Regions from separate parts of the Homo sapiens genome. Here regions 2, 3, 4 and 5 are each linked to region 1. The links are contacts of gene promoters, found by promoter capture Hi-C in blood cells and fetal thymus (Javierre and others, 2016). All regions are on one chromosome and are shown on one strand. The core of a region is centred on a gene start or on the middle of the fragment in contact, and the rest is flanking DNA. Distances in the headings are between cores, read along the strand shown.

Region 1 (2,716 bases), core at 122-2,621:
GAGGTTTTGTGTCTTTAAAACTCCATCAAGACCTGCTTCTTCAAACCCTCCATTCCTTGCAGTGCCTGTCTATGTGGGTGCTTTGTGGTTGCCAGTAGATTGGTATTTACATTGCCATGGACCTCTTTCAGACAGAGTTGACCTGCTGACTACTGCTGCCTTTCCATCTATGTACCCCCAAGTTGGACCGCGATGGGGGTGGGGGGGGGGGTCTTCTCTTTGTGCAGATGGACTGAGCTGCAGTGTGGGTGGATTGAAAGTGTCCTCTAAGATGTTTACTGTCAACATGGTGTATGAAACCAGCTTAACTCTGATATTTACTTGAGGCTGGGTAGGAGAATTGTTTACAAATCACATTGGGAGAGAAAGGGCAAGTTCTCAGAGGCTGTGGGAGAGAAAACAGTCCTAGGTCCTTGTTTAAGGTTAGGGCATGGCTTGCTCAGGATTTGTGCCACCAAGGGGCAGTGTGCCAGGCTCCCATGGCCGTCCTTCTGTGGGCGGGACTTCAGGGCCACCAGTCATCCCGGATGACTCAGCTTCTGGGGCACCTGCACCAGCCTTAATTTCCTCTGCTGGAGCCACTGTCTTTGAGAGGAATTGTCAGACACAGAGGGCATGTGCTGTTGATTTACAGTGGGAAAGGATGGAGGGGTTTGTTTTCACATTTATGTGTGTACTCCGTATCATGCGGCTGGATCTTGTGGAAGACTTTCTGGCTACTAGAAGTCAGGGACAAGCTGGGTCTAATTTTCGAGTAAGGCAGACAGCTGGAGGAGGTGTGGTCCCCGAAGGTCTATAAACACATCACAGTGAGTGTAGCAGTGAGTGGGAAAGATGAGGATTTCCCCTGCAATGGCTTGTGAGCAAATAGGAAATCACAGCTTTAGAAGAATGAATCATTCTTTGCTTCATGAAGCTTATGGCAGCCTCAGTGGAGCAATTGATTTAGTATGCAGTCCATTCTTGGTGAGAACAGCTAATTTCAAGCAGAAAATAATTGCCCGCAAAATGGAGCTACTTCTCCTGTTGAGATGTTTAAGGACTTTGCAGCCCACTCCACCTGTTGGGTACACCATGGTGGTTGGATTTCACTTGGTTTTGATTGTCCTTTTTCTTCCCAAAGCAGAATGCCCAGGCACTACCCTCTCCTCCCCCAGCTGGTGCTGGCATGAGAGGAATTCTGCTAATACAGATTACTGCCCACCGGGTCACTGCAGAGGAAGTTGCAGCTATAGCACCTTTGCCATTGGGAGGGATTTGTGTCTGAGCTCTCTGACTTCCGTAGCGTAGACTGGAAATGGAAGCTCACAGGGAGCTGAGACAGCCACCCACTTTCAAACTGACCTGAAATCCAGAAGAGGCAAAAGGGAGGAGAGCCAGGAGGACAGGCCAGTAGAAGGGAGGCCCTGCTAATCTCAGCATTAGCCATTCAGACTCATGGCAGCGGTGGCCTTGGCACCAGGAGCAGTCACGCAGCAGCACGGGGTGTCATGAGGTGGAGCTGGAGGAGACCCCCAGGGCCACTGGCTGTAAGTGCTGGGCTCCTGTGTGCTTCTACCCCTAACTTCCCAGTGTAGAATCAGGGTAGCTCACAGCTCAGAGACTTCCCTCTCTGGCTCTTCCTCTCAGGGTTAGCATAGGTAAGGATTCCTCAATTATTTCAGCATAATCTAGCAAAGCAACTTGCCAATGACGTCAGATAATACCCATTATGAGGTGGCTAGAGAACTGGGCACATAATAAAAGAAAACTCAGCTTTTGGCTGGGGGAATATCCTGTGGGCTTCACTGAGATCTTCCCAACCATCTCTTTAGAATTGGGGTTATTTAGAGCTGATTGAGAACACCTTAGGAGTATGTCTGTGGAAAACGTCTATTTACGTTGAAGTTTTAAAAATGCCTACCCCAGGAGGGAAGGAACACCGTTATTACCTCTCTTTGGAATGTTGGAAAGGAATGGTCCGTGTGGGTATGTAAGGCCAGACAATTTTAAACACCTTGACCACTAAAATAACCTTTGTATGTTAGAAGTGCCTGTAGATATAAGATGATTCTGTCTAATGAGGTTAGTAAATTGTTCGTTTTTTGCATGGACATTTGGACAAGTCTGTATCCTTTCATGTTTAACATCTTTGAGCTTCTGAATTTCTGTATATTATGTCTGACCTGTTATTGATAATTGGAAAGAAATGTATAATGTTCTGTGCAGAGTGCTTTTGCTTATATGTAAGCAAGCATCATAAGAACATAGGTAAATGTGGAGTGTGGAATGTGGATACTTCTTTCAATAGAATTCTGAGGGCAAGTTAACCTTGTAACCAGAGTCCTTAATACTTGGATACTGGAAAATTTTATGTGCAATAATCCCCTTGCCCAGTTTATTAAGTTGCCTGTTTTCTATGTAATGTGAAAAATTGGAATTGAGTGATTGAATTAATAAACTTGCATCGAGGAAAGCAGGGTATGTTGGCCAGTGTGAATCCCAGTAGTATCATAAAGTTTCAGTTTTGCCTTAAATTTTCATTTGTTGTCTTCCTCCCTAAATTAATGCCAATTCTCAGCATTTTCTTATACCTGCTAGAGTGATCCTAATTGATTTGGGTAGAAATAGTCTTAGAGCACGTTTTTCCATAAATAATTTTAGTCCCTGGATAATCCAACTTTTACTTATAAACAGAAAAATTTATATTAGATATGAAGTGGCCTGGATTGTGCAA
Region 2 (2,716 bases), core at 131-2,630, 940 kb after region 1:
TTATATATCCTGTGAAATGCAGCATTTGTGTTGTGCTGTTTCAAGATTGCCATTCAAAATATTGACCATAGGTTTGAATCTAATTGGTAGAGCTACTAGGTGGAGGGGATGCTCTAGTGATAAGGTAGAAAAAGTGTTCCAGATTTTTTACTTACTGGTCTAATGATGTTACTTTGTCTACTTCCCTCACACACAAATGGATATGTCTAAAAAAATCTCATTCCTTTTTTAAAAAGTTACTACAGACTGATGAGGATTGATAGTTTCAATTGGATAAAGTTTGGTTTAGACTCAGACTTCCTGGACACAGAACAAAGATCAGCTTCAGATTCAGGGAAGGAAGCTTACTCAATAATTCTTTGCACTAAAAATTTGGCTAGTATAGGAGCTAAAATATACCATGCAGTAAAAATAAACATATCTATCCCCCAGGTTCTGTAGTTAATTGACTGCGAAAATGTGTGTGCGCCACCGACACTGGGTGCCTGGAAGAAGACTTGGCTACTTGTTTTGTCAATAAGTCCCACATATATTTGGTTAACTTAGTTGTTTGTGTCTAGAATTCACCAATATTGAGTCAATTTTAGCTTAGCTTGTTGAGGAGCTCTGAGAGGCTCTAGCTGTCTTCTTCCCTGGAGACTCAGAATTCTCATTGCTATCCACGATAGAACATCTCTCAATATATAATGTGATAGAAATATAGCCTGATTTAGAGGAAAGCTGGAATTTTATTAAAGTAAATAAAGCATACAATATAAAGATTTACGTCCAGGGTCTCTTCAGAGATCCTTCATTAAATGCCTATATGAAACCCGATAGCTTTTTTCCATTCAAAATATACAATACTAGTTGCAAAATGTTTTGTGGGTTGTGTTCTGCATGGTAAATTTTAATCCTTGTTTTGCCAGTCTAGGTAAATATTTATTAGCCATTGATTTTTTAGAACAGCACAGGACATCAGCCTTTAATTTTCTAGTTGAAGCAGGAATGGCCAGTTTCCCTATGTCCTTTCCTTTCTACCAAATGACTGCTTGACATCTTTATCAGTATATTTGAGGCTCCACAGGCTGCCCATCATCACCCTGCCCCCACCTGAAGAAAAACATGTGGAGAAGTCCCAAGATTAGAGAATCAATTCAGGGCCAAGTCACATAACCAAAACCACTCATTGCTTTACAAGAATGATTTCAAATAGTATTCCTTCAAATTAGAAGCTTCACTAGCCTAAATCCTTTGGAATGTTTGTCAGAGCACTTAAGATACGTAGTAATTATTAAATTTGGAGTCTGGTATGGTGAGAGGAAGATAACAGATTTTGTGTATAGATGGCCTGGAAGATGGTAAGAGAAAGAGGAAACAGAAGGAAATATTGCTGGATGTGGTTTGGAGAGTTTTATGTAAGATGTTAGGAGGAATGCCAGCTAGACACAGTCTGTTGGTAGCTAGAAGTTGGTGGCTATGACAAGTTCAGGGTTGGACAGAATTTAGGAGTTTCACAGAGTGATACAAGTCCCTGAAAATGATATTTAAAAGAGACTAAAGCTTAATGAAGAGAAGCAAAAATTGAGGAACATCTATTGATAAGGCACAAAGAGATGTAAGGTCAAGCCAGTAAGTAACTGGGGTATGAGTAATATGTATTGCTATGGAAACGAAGGAGATGAACCTCGAGGAAGATGATTGTGCAGGAAGGAAGTGTCCTACAGGGAAGCATTAAACTTCATACCAGGGTATGCCTTCTCTTTCTGGTACATCCAAGTTTTCTTTGAAAGAATTATTTCTCTAGAAACATGACTTATTGACAATACTGTGAAACAATCACAAAACTTTAGTGATATGAGACAATAAGCATTTATCACTCATGAATCTGCAGGTAAAAAGGAGATATTAGGTAGCTAATTTAGGCTGGACTTGGCTGGCAGTGGCTGTGGCTCCGTGAATCTTTCTTCAACTTACTGAGGCATGTTCTTATGAGTGACAGAGGCATAGAGCACAAGTCCACCTGCATAAGAGCATTTTGTGAGTCTGTTATATCTGCCGACATTAGCTTGGCCATAGTGAATCTCATAACTAAGCCCAACCTTAAAAGATATTGGAGACTATGCTACAGTTAGCCAAATCCAGCCATATGCACAAACCCAGTGGCAGTCGAGCAGGGAAATGTTACTTCTAAGGAAGTGAAGTAGTGAGGATACATATGCGTATTTCTGAAGAACCTAATCTACCACAAATAAAGATGGTCACTTTTAAAAAACAGGTTTAGGCATAGTTCAGCAATGTACAAAATGTGGAATAAAACCTAGTGACAATTCAAAATTAGGCTTTAGCTTACCACAGTGTTACTGTGGGAACGTGTCTCAGTTCAATTCAGCAAATGCTTTGTGCCAAGCACTATGGGAAATATCAAAGGTGAAAATGACATAGCACCTTCCATCAAGCTTTCAACTTGAGGAAAAGATAAATGTTTCTAAGAGTTACTGTAATAAAATGTCCAGTGTAACAAGAATTATGAGCAGGAACAAGTACTGGAGGTACAGAAAGAAGGGCAAGAGCTCCTCTTAGCTATTGTTTAGAAATCAAGTGCAGGGAGTAGAATATACTCTGGCTAATTTTGGAAGAAAAAGATTTATAGATAATTAAAGATTTACATAATCATTGTGAGAGCTAAAGAGACAGATGTCTAAGTCCTACCCTAGAACTGGGCTGCCCAGGGAGC
Region 3 (2,716 bases), core at 69-2,568, 920 kb after region 1:
TTGGAAACTGTTTTTAGTAGCCAAAGTGAAATATGACAATAGTCCTCAGGGAAGTTTGGGAAATACTTTCCAGAGAATCTAGAGCATGGATTCCCCTAGTATCTACAAAGGAAGCATCAGACTAGAAAGTTCTAAGCTTCCAAAGTGCTAGAAAGCTAGACATATGGAAGATCTTGCATGCATACCAAAATGATTAAAAATTAAACAACTTTCTGGTAGTACTATAAAGACAACAAATTTAGAGTGCGAGAAGTTCTGCAGAACAACCTGGTTTCTTTCAACAGGCCGGTGATGTGAGGAAAACAGAGGGAGTAGTGATAATCTCTTTAGGTTCAAAGAGACCGAAGAGGCATAACCAAATAAGGCATATGGACCTTGTTGAAATCCCAGTTTGAACAAGCCAACTGTAAAAAGTAATTCTTGTAACAGTTGGGGAGTTTTGAATATGAACTGGCTATTAGATGGTGTCAAGGAATTGTCAATTTTGTGAGGCATAATGGCATTATAAACATGTAAGAAAATGTCTATAGTTTTTAGTGGTGGATAGCTAAGCATGTATGGGAGAAACAGCAGTCCTATTTGAATTGAGTTTGATCACTTTATATTTTCTCGGGTTTGAGTTTCCTCTATTTTCTCAATTTGAGTTGTGTTATTTTCTCTGGTGTTGGGAGCTATAGTGCTTATGAAAAGTCCTATACACCTTGAAACTGTACAGTCTTTTGACAGAGCTGGAAGTGATGAGAAAAAAGATGGGCCGATTAAAAAGTTCTTTATATATTCTTCCTAAAGTCTTAGAAAAGAAAAACCACTTACCATCGTCATTAGGAAATTGCAAACACTCATGTCCTTGCAATGAAAGCTAAGGTGGGATTTTAGTCAGCCTTCTGCCCCTGGATTTTTTCATCTGTGGGAGCCAGCTGGCCCACAAGCAGTGCAGGTGGTTTTCTAAATGGTTTTCCAGAATTCCTGGTGTAAGGATTTTTGTATGTGATCTGCATTTGCCGCTTTTCTTTTTATTACACTGAGAATAAAGCAGAATTAGACCCTGAATGTCACATATAAAGTTGATAGTCTTTTTGCTTATATGCATTTGTATGTCTATATATGTATATGTACATGTATTTGAGAGAGTATGTGTCACTGTTGTCTAACAGCAAGGAGAAAGTGGAACATTGGAAATTGTAAGTGAACATAACAAGACAATACCCAGTACTTGAGTATTTTTTCCTGGAAAGAATAAAAATAACTTTCAATCATCTTCAAGAAATGTATTATTTTAAGTGAATTCTGAATTATTCATAGGCCCCTGAAAATCATCTCTATTTTTCTGTGTTGGATCTAAGATCTAATAGATGTTTTCCTAGAGGTATATTCATTCTTACACTGTCAATTCACATATTTTATTTTTTATCTCTTGGGAGAGTCCTAATTATTCAACTTTTTCTTTTCTCAAGGTCTACACTAGGAGGAGTTATTAATGTTTCATCAACTGAGTTATAGAAGATCTTCGAGGACATATAGTCAACTTCCTGCACAATGCAGCAAACCTGTCTTAATGTATCTGTTAACAGGTGGTCAACCTGTGATTGAATACTTCCTATTTGCAGAGAATTCACTAGTTCATTCCTCTTCCAGATAGCTCTAATTATTCATGTTCTAATAGTGAACCTACTAATATGTATCAAGCACATTGTGATTTTTCTTACATTGTTATCTTGTAATCTAATAAAACTATATAACTACCTCCTAATTGCTAAATCCAAAGCACATTATTTTAATCTTCATCTTGCTGAAATTCTGTAGCATTGTATGTTACCCATTCATCACTCCATCTCTTGATAGTCTCCCCTGTCTTAGTTTCTTTGATTTCCTTTCCCAATTTCTCTTTTCCATGTGACTTGTTCTTTTCAGTCTCCATGTAAGGGACTTTTCATCAGGGCACTCCCTTAAATATTCTTCTAACACTTTGTCTTTGGCCACAGTCTCCCTGAAATGTCTTCACATTCAGAACTTTGTTATCAATAGCCTCTTTGTATGTCTTCATCCTCAACTTAGCTCCTAAACTCCAGGCCTTTGTATATGAATATTTCCTGAAATTTTCACCTAGATGCCACAGACACCTCAAATTCAACATTTCTAAAAACTTAAGTGTAGTATTTTCCTTACCAAAATTCTACTTTCTTCTTTTGGTCATTAGAACTATGATCCACTAACCAAAAATCTTGATGTTTTTACTATCTCCTTTTCTTCCCCGCTAAGTATATCTTGAATGCTTAGTCTTCTCCACTCCCAAAGCCACTGCCTTAGTTCAAGATCTCATCACTCTTCAGGTTGGTACTATCTAGGTACTGTCTGCTAACTTGTGTCCCACTTCCAGTCTTAGATCCCTCCAGCCTAACTGCCACACTGCTGCTAGAGCAGCTTTTCAAAGATGAGATCTATTTCCTATAGTGAAACTCTCCAGTGACTCCATGTTCCTCTAGAATCAAGCCCAAGCTTCCAAGTACATCATACGAGAAGTCCTTCATGACATGACTCCCATCTTCGTTTCTAGCTTCACCTCTCTTCAGTACACCCTGTCCTCTATTCATTCCAAGTTCAGAAAGTGTCATTTTCTTGTCCTGATGCCTAGTCAATATCTATAACATAGAAAGCTTTGCTTATTAATTTGAACAGCTTGGTTACCCCTCGCTGGACATTATTTCTTAATGTTTCC
Region 4 (2,716 bases), core at 57-2,556, 780 kb after region 1:
AGCATTCCTATTTCTCCGCAGCCTTGCCAGCATCTGTTGTTTCCTGACTTTTTAATAATCACCATTCTAACTGGTATCTCATTGTGGTTTTGATTTGCATTTTTCTAATGACCAGTGATGAACTTTTTTTCATGTTTGTTGGCTGCATAAATGTCTTTTTTCGAGAAGTGTCTGTTCATATCCTTCACCCACTTTTTGATGGGGTCGTTTGTTTTTTTTCTTGTAAATTTGTTAAAGTTCCTTGTAGATTCTAGATATTAGACCTTTGTCAGATGGGTAGCTTGCAAAAATTTTCTCCCATTTTGTAGGTTACCTGTTCACTCTGATGATAGTTTCTTTTGCTGTGCAGAAGCCCTTTAGTTTGATTAGATCCCATTTGTCAATTTTGGCTTTTGTTGCAGTTGTTTTTGGTGTTTTAGTCATGAAGTCTTTGCCCATGCCTATGTCCTGAATGGTCCTTTCTTTCACTTTTTAGTTGTATTGTTTCAACTCTATCAAAACATACAACATTTACAAACTATTTTCCCCCCATTACCACCACTTTTTTGTCTCCGATATATGTCTTCAATATATGAGTATGGAAAGATAACATGGAAATATGGGGTCTATTGAGTATATATATACTCAAAATTTTGACAGCATTTTCCCAATCATCTCTTGGTCATACTCTAGCCAATTTTTCAAGAACATATGAATATTCTTTCAGTTCATAAATGTTTAAATTTATTCTTCAATAGCTTTGATTCTAGAACTTTGATTAAAAAAAATCTTGGCTGACTATCTTTGAGCTTTGAGAAAATGTTGCTTCAATTTTTAAAATTGTGCATGTTGCTATTGAGAAGTTTGATACACACCATTTTTTTCTGTCTTTTGCAAATGACTTTGCTGTTTTACTGAGAGATCCATGGTATTTCTTCTTTATCTTTACGATTTAATGATTTTCTAGGTTATAGCTTGAAATTGACAATTCTCAGCACACAGTGGGCCTTTTCAATACGTATTCTAGAATTTTTTTCCTCTGGAGTGTTTTCTTGGATGATGTTTTAAAATATTAGTTATATCCCATTGTTTTTTCTTCTTCATGGATTCCAATTATATTTATTTCAAGAATATTTGTACTGGCTCTTGGATCCTTTGTTTCACTTTCTTATAACTGTTTTCGTTCATCTCATCAGAGCTCCTTATTTTTAATCGATTTCATTTCCCCTTAGGGAGTTTGATATTTAGTCTGATATATATATATTATTTTATTTTATTTTGAGACTGAGTCTCACTCTGTCACCCAGGCTGGAGTGCAGTGGCACAATCTTGGCTCACTGCAATCTCAGACTCCCAGGCTCAAGCGATTCTCGTGCCTCAGCCTTCCGAGTAGCTGGGATTATAGGCGTGCACCACTGCGCACGGCTAATTTTTTTTGTTGTTGTTGTATTTTTAGTAGGAATGGGGTTTCACCATGTTTGCCAGGCTGGTCTCAAACTCCTGAACTATTACAGGCATGAGCCACCATGACCGGCCTAAATTCAAGTTATTTTCTGAGTTTGATGATTTCACATTCCTATTTTCTGCTTATCCTAGTCGACATTTCTTATTGGAAGTGTTCTCATATTTGCAAATACTTATTCATGACATATCACGTTGCAGTGTTGTTTTACAGTTTTATTCTGCTGTTTCTTTTTTTAGATCATGGTCATCAGGTAAGAACAATTCCCATTTTCTTTGTTCTTGTTATAATTGCTTTATATGGATGTTGCCTATCTTGTCTTTAAATGTCTGGATTTAACTGGATCATCAATTAAAAAAAACAGCAAAGGGTTTGGATGGCTCACAGGTTTCTTAGTGTAAGAGTGCCCTCAGCTGGGCACGGTAGCTCACGTCTGTAATCCCAGCACTTTGGGAGGCTGAGGCGGGTGTATCACTTGAGGTTAGGAGTTTGAGATCAGCCTGGCCAACATGGCAAAATCCTGTCTCTACTAAAACTACAAAAATTAGCTGGGCATGGTGGCATGTGCCTGTAGTCCCAGCTACATGACAGGCTGAGGCAGAAGAATCCCTTGAAACCAGGAAGTGGAGGTTGCAGTGAGCTGAGATAGCGCCACTGCACTCCAGTCTGGGCAACAGAGCGAGACTCTATCTCAAAAACAAATAAACAAACAAACAAAAAATGAGCGCCCTCTTCTGTCAGGGCAGTGAGGTGCGTTTTCTTTAATATGTGGCATTTGTGGGGGAGTAGAAGGGTTGAGGTACATTCAGATTCTGTTGTACCCATTTGTTCTATAAGTCCCAATTTCTGCCAGTTGGGTTTTTTTTTTTTCCTTCTAAGACACTTTTCTGTTCTCAGTTGCCTACTTTTTCCCCAGAAAGGGTACTTTATAAAGACTTCTAAACCATGCATTTCAAGACTTTAGATTCGTCCATAGCTAGAGTTCTGTGCCACCAGGTCAGAGGTGACCTGACAGCGAGCTCACTAGTTATTTGCCAACATTAGAACATGCAGCATTCTCCAGATTAGAGGGCATTGACATCTCTATCATATAGATTATTTTTCATTATTGAATATGGTGTGTCTATATATTAATGTAGGTCTTAGGTAATTATCTCAATAAAGTTTTCTAGATTTTAGTGTAGAGCACCTACATGTTTTACAAGATTTATTCGATTCTGATGATTATGTCTTTTAAAAGCAGCATATGGTAAGTTTTATTTATACAGTCCAACA
Region 5 (2,716 bases), core at 123-2,622, 740 kb after region 1:
TGGGTTGGTCAAACCATTGTGTTTCAATGAAGCTGAATCAGGCATGACATTTGCAATAGGGAAATCTGTGGGTCTTTCTCCAGGGTTAATCTATTTCTACAGGAAATATTTCCAATCACCTGCCTAGTACTTACAGACTTGTAGGCTAGCATGCTGTAAACGGGTAGAGAAGGATGGGGATATGCCTGTTAATTATGTAGCTATTTCCTTAGCTCTCTGTTTTCAATATGGTGCCTCGCCATACAGGAACTGGACCTACCCTCATTGAATTTATTTAGAGAAAAATATTCTGTCTCTGTCTCTGGTAGGAGGAGGCCATTTGGTAGCTGAGGGTTCAGGAGAGAGGATCTCCTGATATAAGCTTTTTACCAGTTCTTCTGCTGTCTGCCCTACCCTTCATCTGGCAGCTCTGCTTTCGGGGGTTTTTGGGCTCCACAATCTGAATATGCTTTCACATTACCGGCACGCTTTATTTTTTTGCCAAGTTACTTAACACTCATTTATCATTTTCCACCTTTCTCTAATATTGTCTTCCCCATTTTTTGTCTTCATGGGCTGACTTTTTAATCATTTATAAATCAACGGGCTATAGAGACACTTTTGAAGTTGTTTCATGTAAAGGATCATTTTCCTGAAACATTTTATCAGACTCTCATCAATATTGAGTATCACCTGCCACTTTTTAGCCCTCGATTTCATGGGATCTTTCTATAGCTTCCTTATACTTGTTATTTATTACTCAGAAAACCTTAGTGTTATCCTCAGATGTGAAAATTTTCCTGTGTTCTGCTTCTTTCTTGGATAATGTCAAATAAGACAGGGACTTGAGAACTTAATGGCTAACACTCTTCAATCCAGAAAAGATCCCATTTTCTCTGCTTAAGACGTATTCCCATTTTTAAGCCCTAGCATCTGTACTGAGATCCTTGTCTCCATGTGCTCCTTTTCCAGTTTTTCTGGTCTCTTCTTCTCTTCTAGCTCATCACCACTTCCTTGTGCTCACGTACAAGGATTCCCCAGGATGAAATGCAAACCCATTGCCTATTTTTACCACCTATCACTGAAGTAGGTAGGTTTTATGAGGCTTCTCTAAGCTTATCTACCTTGATAACTCCCTCAGCCACTGTGAATCTATAGTATATAGTGCCACATTAGATGTTTGAGTTCCAAAAGAAAGTTGTAGTATTGGGCTTAAACAAAGGAAAGAGAAAAAGAACCCACAAATAAATCCTACTTAGGCTTTTTCCTCATCTTTCTTTTGTTAGACTCAGCTAGCCCCTCTTAAGGTCTCTTGTATCTGAATTCTAGCCACCTCCCAACAGATCTTTGCTCCTTCTGTCTGTCATCTTATTTTCTTGTGGTCTATTCTATTTTAGTAGCACTATTCCCTAGCATACGTTTTATAGTATAAAAGCTATGTTCTTAGTCTTCCAGGGTGCTACTTCTTGGAAACCATAAATTCTTTCCTGTCTCAACAAACTTGACTCTTGCAGAGAGAAAGAATGGTTTTGCTACTGTATATATACATATGCATTCAGCACATCAACTGATCTTTTTTCTTGGCTGTGTGTTTTCTCATCTGTAAGGGCAATACATATAGAGAACCATCCTCATGAACAATGGGAGAAGGTAATGCGTAAAGGAAGCTTGAGAGGCTATATCAGTTAACTGTGATACAAATCCCAGCACCATACAGCAATAATCACTTATTTAATTCACAAATATAAGGGCTGGCTGTGAGTCAGCCAATCTAGGTTGTGGTTGGCTGTGAGTGGCTCTGCTCTAGGTGTTTCTGTTTCTTTTCTTGGAATCAGGTGGCTAATACATGTTCTCACAGCTGTGGCAGAAGACTAAGAGAGCAAGCCCAAACATGCAAGCATTTTTCAAGATGTTGCTTACAGCATGTCTGCTAAACTCCCATTGGCCAAAGCATGTCAGATGGCCAAGTGCAGAATCAAAGCACCTGAAGTACAATCTATCTACTGAAAAGATGGAGGAAGAAGTGATTATTTTAAATCTACTTGTGTACAGAAGAACAACTTTCTAAAATCTCAAAATATCCCATTCAGTAACTTGCCTTAGTTGAAACAGAAGGGAAAATACAGAGTTTGAATTTAAGTCTGAATACTTTCAGAACCTGTGCTGCCTCCATCATGCCATTGGATGGCAACTCATTTTCAAATTTTAGAAGCAAAATCATGTTTAAAAAAAAGACAGTTTAATAGACCTCAGAAAAAAACAGTCTTCTCTGAAATCCCTAAACTCATTACTAGTGGCTTAATTGCTAAGAAAATTAAACAGTGACAAGAAGAAAAAAAAAGTTTATCTTCTTCTATCTCTTACCACAATACAAAACAATCAGCAAAGATAACATTTCCTAAATTTTTGTTTAATTATCTAGAAGTTTGATGGGAAAGAATGTTTCATAATTTATAAGCCAATTCTTGTTTAGCCAGATTAGGTCTTTAATTCTTGCATACTATAGCAACTATAAAATACAATTACATGTTACATAGGAAACAAACCTATAAAACAAAACAAACCAATCAATATAGCCCATTCCCCGTAGAATTCTGTTTGGTATTTTAATGAGGCAAACTCCCAAACTAAGAATCAATATCTGTTATGATCCTTTTGAAAGGACTAGTGGTCACATCTTTTTCCACGAGTATCATCAATAGAAATCTTCCTCTGGCCTGTTTCTTTGAGGCCTAGA

Evidence for each region. The method cuts DNA at HindIII sites, captures the fragments that hold promoters and counts their contacts. A CHiCAGO score of 5 or more calls a contact.
Region 2: a fragment that was not itself captured here is called in contact with the fragment with the promoter of OSBPL10-AS1 in region 1 in 3 of 17 cell types (total CD8 T cells, megakaryocytes and naive CD4 T cells); the score reaches 5.6 in total CD8 T cells.
Region 3: a fragment that was not itself captured here is called in contact with the fragment with the promoter of OSBPL10-AS1 in region 1 in 5 of 17 cell types (total CD4 T cells, megakaryocytes, activated CD4 T cells and 2 more); the score reaches 6.5 in total CD4 T cells.
Region 4: a fragment that was not itself captured here is called in contact with the fragment with the promoter of OSBPL10-AS1 in region 1 in 2 of 17 cell types (naive CD8 T cells and total CD4 T cells); the score reaches 5.6 in naive CD8 T cells.
Region 5: a fragment that was not itself captured here is called in contact with the fragment with the promoter of OSBPL10-AS1 in region 1 in 4 of 17 cell types (non-activated CD4 T cells, naive CD4 T cells, activated CD4 T cells and 1 more); the score reaches 6.9 in non-activated CD4 T cells.

The regions. Positions count from the first base shown.
Region 1 is chr3:31,702,868-31,705,583 of GRCh38, reverse strand. It overlaps OSBPL10-AS1 (OSBPL10 antisense RNA 1), which reads right to left and starts at 1,371. Exons shown (of 5, transcript NR_049771.1): 1 at 1,345-1,371. All of the region lies in intron 6 of OSBPL10 (oxysterol binding protein like 10), which reads left to right. The HindIII fragment of the contact is 3,023 bases long and covers 919-2,716 here.
Region 2 is chr3:30,759,181-30,761,896 of GRCh38, reverse strand. The region is part of intron 14 of GADL1 (glutamate decarboxylase like 1); the gene reads left to right. Among named protein-coding and RNA genes, the nearest start is that of GADL1, 130 kb to the left of the region's middle. The HindIII fragment of the contact is 328 bases long and covers 1,217-1,544 here.
Region 3 is chr3:30,781,945-30,784,660 of GRCh38, reverse strand. The region is part of intron 13 of GADL1 (glutamate decarboxylase like 1); the gene reads left to right. Among named protein-coding and RNA genes, the nearest start is that of GADL1, 110 kb to the left of the region's middle. The HindIII fragment of the contact is 2,360 bases long and covers 139-2,498 here.
Region 4 is chr3:30,927,599-30,930,314 of GRCh38, reverse strand. No RefSeq gene overlaps it. Among named protein-coding and RNA genes, the nearest start is that of GADL1, 34 kb to the right of the region's middle. The HindIII fragment of the contact is 5,467 bases long and covers 1-2,716 here.
Region 5 is chr3:30,963,946-30,966,661 of GRCh38, reverse strand. No RefSeq gene overlaps it. Among named protein-coding and RNA genes, the nearest start is that of GADL1, 71 kb to the right of the region's middle. The HindIII fragment of the contact is 552 bases long and covers 1,097-1,648 here.